2 separate regions of the Homo sapiens genome follow, and region 2 is linked to region 1. The links are contacts of gene promoters, found by promoter capture Hi-C in human tissues and cell types (Jung and others, 2019). All regions are on one chromosome and are shown on one strand. The core of a region is centred on a gene start or on the middle of the fragment in contact, and the rest is flanking DNA. Distances in the headings are between cores, read along the strand shown. Region 1 holds the start of RAB40B (RAB40B, member RAS oncogene family). Region 2 holds the start of FOXK2-AS1 (FOXK2 antisense RNA 1).

Region 1 (3,997 bases), core at 948-3,447:
CTGGTAGGGTTCATCCCTCACTGAGCCCAGACCCCGAGGGCACAGTGCAGACAAAGCCCTGTCCTCCAGGCGCTCAATCTCCAGCCCTGTCCTCCAGGCGCTCAATCTCCAGCCCTGTCCTCCAGGCGCTCAATCTCCAGCCCTGTCCTCCAGGCGCTCAATCTCCAGCCCTGTCCTCCAGGCGCTCAATCTCCAGCCCTGTCCTCCAGGCGCTCAATCTCCAGCCCTGTCCTCCAGGCGCTCAATCTCCAGCCCTGTCCTCCAGGCGCTCAATCTCCAGCCCTGTCCTCCAGGCGCTCAATCTCCAGGGCAGCGCTGGCCCTCGGACTTTGCCACAGCGACATCCGAACTATCTAGAAATGTGACGAATGGAAGCTTTTTGTTTTCTTTCCTTCTAATTACACTTCCACAGCCACACGTGGCTCATGGCATCCTACTGGACACCACGGTCCTAGAGACCTGCCACCGAGCGGGGAGGGGGGTAGGACATGCGGGGGCAGCGGCGCCTGGGGACAGGTAGAGACGCAGGCTCCCCTCCTGCCCCACGGAGCACACTCTGCACCCACCAGCTGCCAGAGACTCCCCCGCATGCTGCAGTTTCAGGAGGCCTCTGGGTGCTGGTCGTGAGCCCAAGCCCATCTCAGCTGCTCCCCCAAACTCTGCCCATTCCTCACCCCGTCCCCTAAGCTGAGGTGTGGCCGGGCACCTGAGTCCCACCCCACGCTCCACAGTCTCAGGCCACCCCCTCCAGCCGTGCCACACTCCCTTGGTGCTCACGCCGCCTGCCTGGAGCTGCCCTTAGGGGACAGCCTGCACCCTCTACCGAGCAGCCTCAGATCCCGCTTCCTCCCACCCTCTCCCGCTAAGTTCGTCTCTGGCAGGACCCTGGACCTGGGGCTTCCCAGACCCTTCCCAGGCCCCAGAGCTGACAGGTCCTTCCCACCAAGACTCCATCTCCACGCCCGGCTGCCCTCCTCCGCCCAGGACTCAGAGCGGGTCTCTGTTGGAAGCGTGGGTTCAGCCCCGAGGCGCGGCAGGAAGGTGGGCACAGGCTGGGCTCCTTCCACAGCCTCAGGGTCGGCCTCGTCCAAGCTGTTCCAGGGATGCGCGTGGGTGAAGGCCCCGCCTGCTCCTCACTCCCAGCCGAGGTGTTCGCCTCTGCGCGTTCCCCCTTCTCCTGGGTTCCTGCCCCCGCCTTTCTTTCCCCGGAGCCGTCCACCCCCTCGCCGGGCGCCGGCTTTCAAGCCTCAAACTTGGGGGATCCCCGGGCTGCCTGCCTGGGAGCTCTGGGCGCTCCGGCCTCCCCTCGCCCTGGAACCCGCTCTCCGGCCGCTGTCGTGGGGGGTCCCCTCTTCCGCACGCGAGTCACCTGTGCTCCTTCCTCTCCCCCGGACACGCGGGACCCCTGGCCTCGGGACCGGACCCTGGTCTCCCCTCCCCTCCGACCCACGCGCAGACCCAGCACCTGGGCGCCTGCTCGCCGCGCTCCGCCCCAGGAGCCCCGGAGCTCGCGTCCCCTCCCGCCCCTCCTGCCCCGCGGCCGAACGCGCACTTGCGGACTCGAGCCCCCGCCCCGGGTCCCCACAGCAGCGGCCCCAGGTCGGGAGGAGCCCAGCGCCCGGCCCAGCCGCGGGCTCCCGCTGCGCGCAGACTGCGGAGAAGGATGGAGACTGCGCCGCGGGGCCTCGAGTGGAACTGGGGGTGCAACAGGGACGCCGCAGCACGAGGGCCAGGGCCGGGCGGAGAAAGGCCCGCCCGCGAACCGCGCTCCTCCTCAGCCCCGCGCCCCCGGACCGGGACTCCTACCCTCCCCGGCCACGCGCCCCGGCCTCTTCCCGACCCCTGCCCGGTCTCGCGTCCCCGGACCCGGACCCCCACCCGCACCCCCTCCCCAGCCCCGCGCCCCTCCCCGGCCCCGCGCCCGCACCCCGGCACGCCCTCCGCCCGCGCTCACCCGCCGGGTGGCCGTACGGGGACTCGGCCGCGCCATCCTGCAGGCTCGCCAGGATCTCGCCCTTGCCCACGTCGCTGTCGCCCACCAGCAGGAACTTGAGCAGAAAGTCGTAGGCCCGGACCGGGCTGCCCAGGGCGCTCATCGTGACGGCCCGGCGCCCCCACCCATGCCCGGCCTGCGGGGCTGAGCGCAGAGGCGGCGGCCCGGCCCCGAGAGGCGCCGCGCGGGCCCCGAGTCCTTGCTCGCCTCCGGCCCCGCCCCGCCGCCCAGCGCTGACAGCGCGCATCCCCGCCCGGCCCCGCCATTGGTGGACCGCAGTTGCTAGGGCAGCTGCGCGCTTTCACTGGCTTGGTTGTCCGTCCATCTTACTCTCGTCACCGCCTCCGGGCTGTCGCCCACCCGCCCCTCCTGAAAGGTCGCTGTCACCACAGCCAATGGAGGCCCGGAGACGGGGCAGGGGCGGAGCCAGAACAAGCAGGAGGCGGGGACTCTGCTCCCGCAGCCAATGGCGGGGCGGGGTGGGGGCGATCAGGGGGTGGGGCCGGGTGTTTACACTCTCGCGTGCGCCCGTGAGCGCCACGAACTCGCTCCCACGGTCGTCGGGTCTGCACGCCCCGAGTCGGGAGGGGCGAGGGGCGGTGCAGGGTCCCAGCGTGGGGCCTCCCCACCTGCCCACCAGGGAGACCTCGGGTGCCTGGCCGGGTGGGGCTCGGGGTCGGTCCAGTTGGCGGACGCGGCCGGAAGGCCCCCGCAGGCCGCCTCGCCGGAGGAGTCCCTGTCGCCGTAGAATCCAGGCTCGCGGTCTCTCCCCACGGTTCATCCAGGGCCTCGTCGTTGCCCCATTTACGCGGCGTGCCTGAATGCCTGTGTGTGCACATGCGCCTGTGTACGTGTGCATGTGTTCGTGTGTGTGCATGTCTGCGTGTGCATGTGTGCCTCTGCAGATATCTGCACATGTATGTGTCTGCGTGTGCATGTGTCCCTCTGCAGGTGTCTGCACATCTATGTGTCTGCGTGTGCATGTGTCCCTCTGCAGGTGTCTGCACATGTATGTGCGTGTGCATGTGTCCCTCTGCAGATGTCTGCACATCTGTGTGTCTGCGTGTGCATGTGTGCCTCTGCAGGTGTCTGCACATGTATGTGCGTGTGCATGTGTGCCTTTGCAGGCATCTTTGCATGTGTGTGTCTGCGTGTGCTGCTTCTATGCATGCGCTCCTATGTGTGCGTGCGCTTGTTTGTGCATCCATGCATGTGTTTGCGTGCGTGCTGGAGGAGAGCATTGGGTGGGACCCTCCAGCCTTTTGGCTTCTCCTCTGCTCTAGAGAGCAAGGGTTGCCAGGCCGAGGTCTGCCCTTCGCTCTGAGGGTCTCACCAGGTGCACATTGGTTTATTTGGTGCAGAATTCAGGCAGCAGGCAAAGGGCGAGCTCCGTCCAAGAAGAAGGATAATGCCCCCACTACTTCATCCCCTCCACCCTGCGTTGTGTAGGGAACTGCTCTAGACCCCATTAGAAGTTTTTTGTGGGGGAGGAACAGAAGAGGGAGCGGAAGAAGAATTACAAAAGAGACTGAAGTCAAGATTATTATATTTGTCATTTGCATTCATTTGGACCTAGAAAATGTTTACTTTGGAATGCCAATTTAGTTTGCAACACCTGTTATTCATTGGTTGATTAGTTGCTTTAGTTACTAATGCAGCCACATTTTTTTTTTTTTGAGACAGAGTCTTGCTCTGTTGCCCAGGCTGGAGTGCAGTGATGTAATCTTGGCTCACTGCAACTTCCACCTCCTGGATTCAAGCCTCCCAAGTAGCTAGGATTACAGGCATGTGCCACCACACCCAGCTAATTTTTGCATTTTTAGTAGAGATGGGATTTTGCCATGTTGGCCAGGCTGGTCTTTGACTCCTGACCTCAAGTGATCGACCTCGGCCTCCCAAAATGCTGGGATTGCAGCACTGTTTTTTTTTAGAAGGAAGGTCAGAGGAAGAAAAGAGGATGGAAGGTGGACGCTAGAAAACTATGAGAAAGATGGCATTTAGTCC
Region 2 (2,500 bases), core at 1-2,500, 110 kb before region 1:
TCGTCCACCAGATCCCAGCGGTGTCGGTCACCAGTGTGGCCGGACTGGCCCCAGCGAACACGTACACTGTCTCTGGACAAGCTGTGGTCACCCCGGCAGCCGTGCTGGCCCCTCCTAAGGCAGAGGCCCAGGAGAATGGAGACCACAGGGAAGTCAAAGGTAGGCGGAGGGGAAAGGAGGAGAGGGGAGACCACAGGGAGGTGAAAGGTGGGCCGGGGGGGGAAAGGAGGAGAGGGGAGACCACAGGGAGGTCAAAGGTGGGCCGGGGGGGAAAGGAGGAGAGGGGAGACCACAGGGAGGTCAAAGGTAGGCGGAGGGGAAAGGAGGAGAGGGGAGACCACAGGGAGGTGAAAGGTGGGCGGGGGGGAAAGGAGGAGAGGGGAGACCACAGGGAGGTCAAAGGTGGGCCGGGGGGGGAAAGGAGGAGAGGGGAGACCACAGGGAGGTCAAAGGTGGGCCGGGGGGGAAAGGAGGAGAGGGGAGACCACAGGGAGGTCAAAGGTAGGCGGAGGGGAAAGGAGGAGAGGCTGCCCCATCAGCCTCACACTCTGGGAAGTCCATAAGATTTGCTCATCCTTGGCCAGGTACAGTGGCTCACACCTGTAATCCCAGCACTATGGGGGGCTGAGACGGTCGGATCACCTGAGGTTAGGAGTTGGAGACCAGCCTGACCAACACGGAGAAACCCTGTCTCTACTAAAAATACAAAATCAGCTGGGCATGGTGGCGGGTGCCTGTAATCCCAGCTACTCGGGAGGCTGAGGCGGGAGAATCACTTGAACCCGGAAGGTGGAGGTTGCAGTGAGCTGAGATTGCGCCATTGGACTCCAGCTTGGGTAACGAGCGAAACTCCATCTCAAAAAACAAAAAAAAGATTTGCTCATCTTTTTCTAATTTGCTGTTTGTTTTAGAGACATTTTCTAGCAGGTGTGATAGCTATCTGGTTATTATGTTTTAAACTGGCAAGATTTTTATTTGCTTTCCAGTAATATTAATGTCGTTTCTTTTCCTTTAATTTCAGTGAAAGTAGAGCCTATTCCCGCCATTGGCCACGCCACGCTCGGCACTGCCAGCCGGATCATTCAGACGGCACAGACCACCCCGGTCCAGACGGTGACCATAGTACAACAGGCACCTCTAGGTCAACACCAGCTACCAATAAAAACTGTAACACAAAACGGCACTCACGTGGCATCAGTCCCCACTGCGGTCCACGGCCAGGTGAACAATGGTAAGACATGCTGGTCGGTGGCTCCCCGTGGCTGTGGGTACTGGGAGCAGAGCCCCTTCTCACTCGTGGTTTCGGTTCTGACTGTAACAATTTTAGCTTTTGTCTGAGGCAATGTTTGCATTTCGAAGCTGCAGGAAATCTAGTCATGCTGGGGAAGTGGTCGTGGAGTCGGCCGTCATGGGATTCCCGTGGGAGGACCTGCCTGAAAAGAGATGAGAGTTTCTAATACATTGAGAGGGAAAAATACTCTCGCCTCTTGTAGATTTCCTGGGTGTGGCCTGGAAGCGGCCTGAAACGGCGGGAGCCGCCGCGTGTCTTTTCCCTTGGCCTCGCGCGCCCTGTGGCCTGTGGCGGTGCTATGCTGCTGAGGGTGGGAGAGAGGCTGCTTTTCTGTGCGCTTTGCTCTCAGAGTCCGTCCGAGGCCGGTGCACAGAAAACCGCACGGATGTTCTGACATTGACAAGTGGAGACACCAGAACCTCCGCGCCGACACCGGGTTATCTACCTTCGCCCTGCCCTGTGGAGTGTGGAAAGGGTGGGAGTCCCTGCTGGCTGCCGAGTCAACTCTGGCATTGGGGCCTGGCTCAGGTGTGGGCTCCCGCTGCTCTGGGTTGGGTACATGTGGGCTGTTGCCGGCTGTGTGGCTGATCCTGGCGCTTGCGGGATCTCAAGCAGGCAAATCCGAAGCTACCGACTAAAACTGTCTCTGTGCCCACGACACGCTTTCTTTGAAAGAGGGTACAGGTCAGAAGGCTTTATCACGACGTTTGAATCCTTACCGAACGCTACGAACAGAGACCTTGAAACCTGCAGGTACCTCCTACTCTGACTCAGCACCACCCTGCCTCTCCCCAAATTTATGGAAGAACAAGGTCTGGAACCTTTTCTAGGGAAGACTGACTACCTGGGGTTTTTTTTGTTTTTAAGTAATAGCAACACTTGCTGCCTGTAGATAGATCGCAGAGTTTGCAGTCATCAGTTACCTGTTTGAATGCCTTCGTCCCCAAGCCCTGTGTCTCCTCCTTCTCTTCTCTCTGGGTAACTGTGGCTGTGGATGCTCTAAGGTGATAAACCTGGTGGCACTGCAGGTAGCTGGGAGGAGATGGAAGCCGGGAGGGCTGGCGATTGGAGGGCAGGCGGTTGGAGGGCTGGCTATTGGAGGGCAGGCGGTTGGAGGGCTGGCGGTTGGAGGGCTGGCGGTTGGAGGGCAGGCGGTTGGAGGGCAGGCGGTTGGCTTTCTGGTCTTAGTCACTCCCAGTCTGAAGACAA

The links. Contacts are between HindIII fragments. The study calls those that stand out against the background at their distance.
Region 2: a contact is called between a fragment that was not itself captured here and the fragment with the promoter of RAB40B in region 1, in 4 of the 25 tissues and cell types used here (dorsolateral prefrontal cortex, lymphoblastoid cells, pancreas and 1 more).

The regions. Positions count from the first base shown.
Region 1 is chr17:82,696,501-82,700,497 of GRCh38, forward strand. It overlaps RAB40B (RAB40B, member RAS oncogene family), which reads right to left and starts at 2,198. Exons shown (of 6, transcript NM_006822.3): 1 at 1,955-2,198. The coding sequence starts at 2,096. RefSeq lists silencers at 1,927-2,356, 2,377-2,766. The HindIII fragment of the contact is 28,650 bases long and covers 1-3,997 here.
Region 2 is chr17:82,586,042-82,588,541 of GRCh38, forward strand. FOXK2 (forkhead box K2) reads left to right here. Exons shown (of 9, transcript NM_004514.4): 7 at 1-159; 8 at 1,022-1,231. FOXK2-AS1 (FOXK2 antisense RNA 1) reads right to left here and starts at 2,381. Exons shown (of 3, transcript XR_001753132.3): 1 at 2,215-2,381; 2 at 1,189-1,433. RefSeq lists a silencer at 1,478-1,678. The HindIII fragment of the contact is 6,150 bases long and covers 1-2,500 here.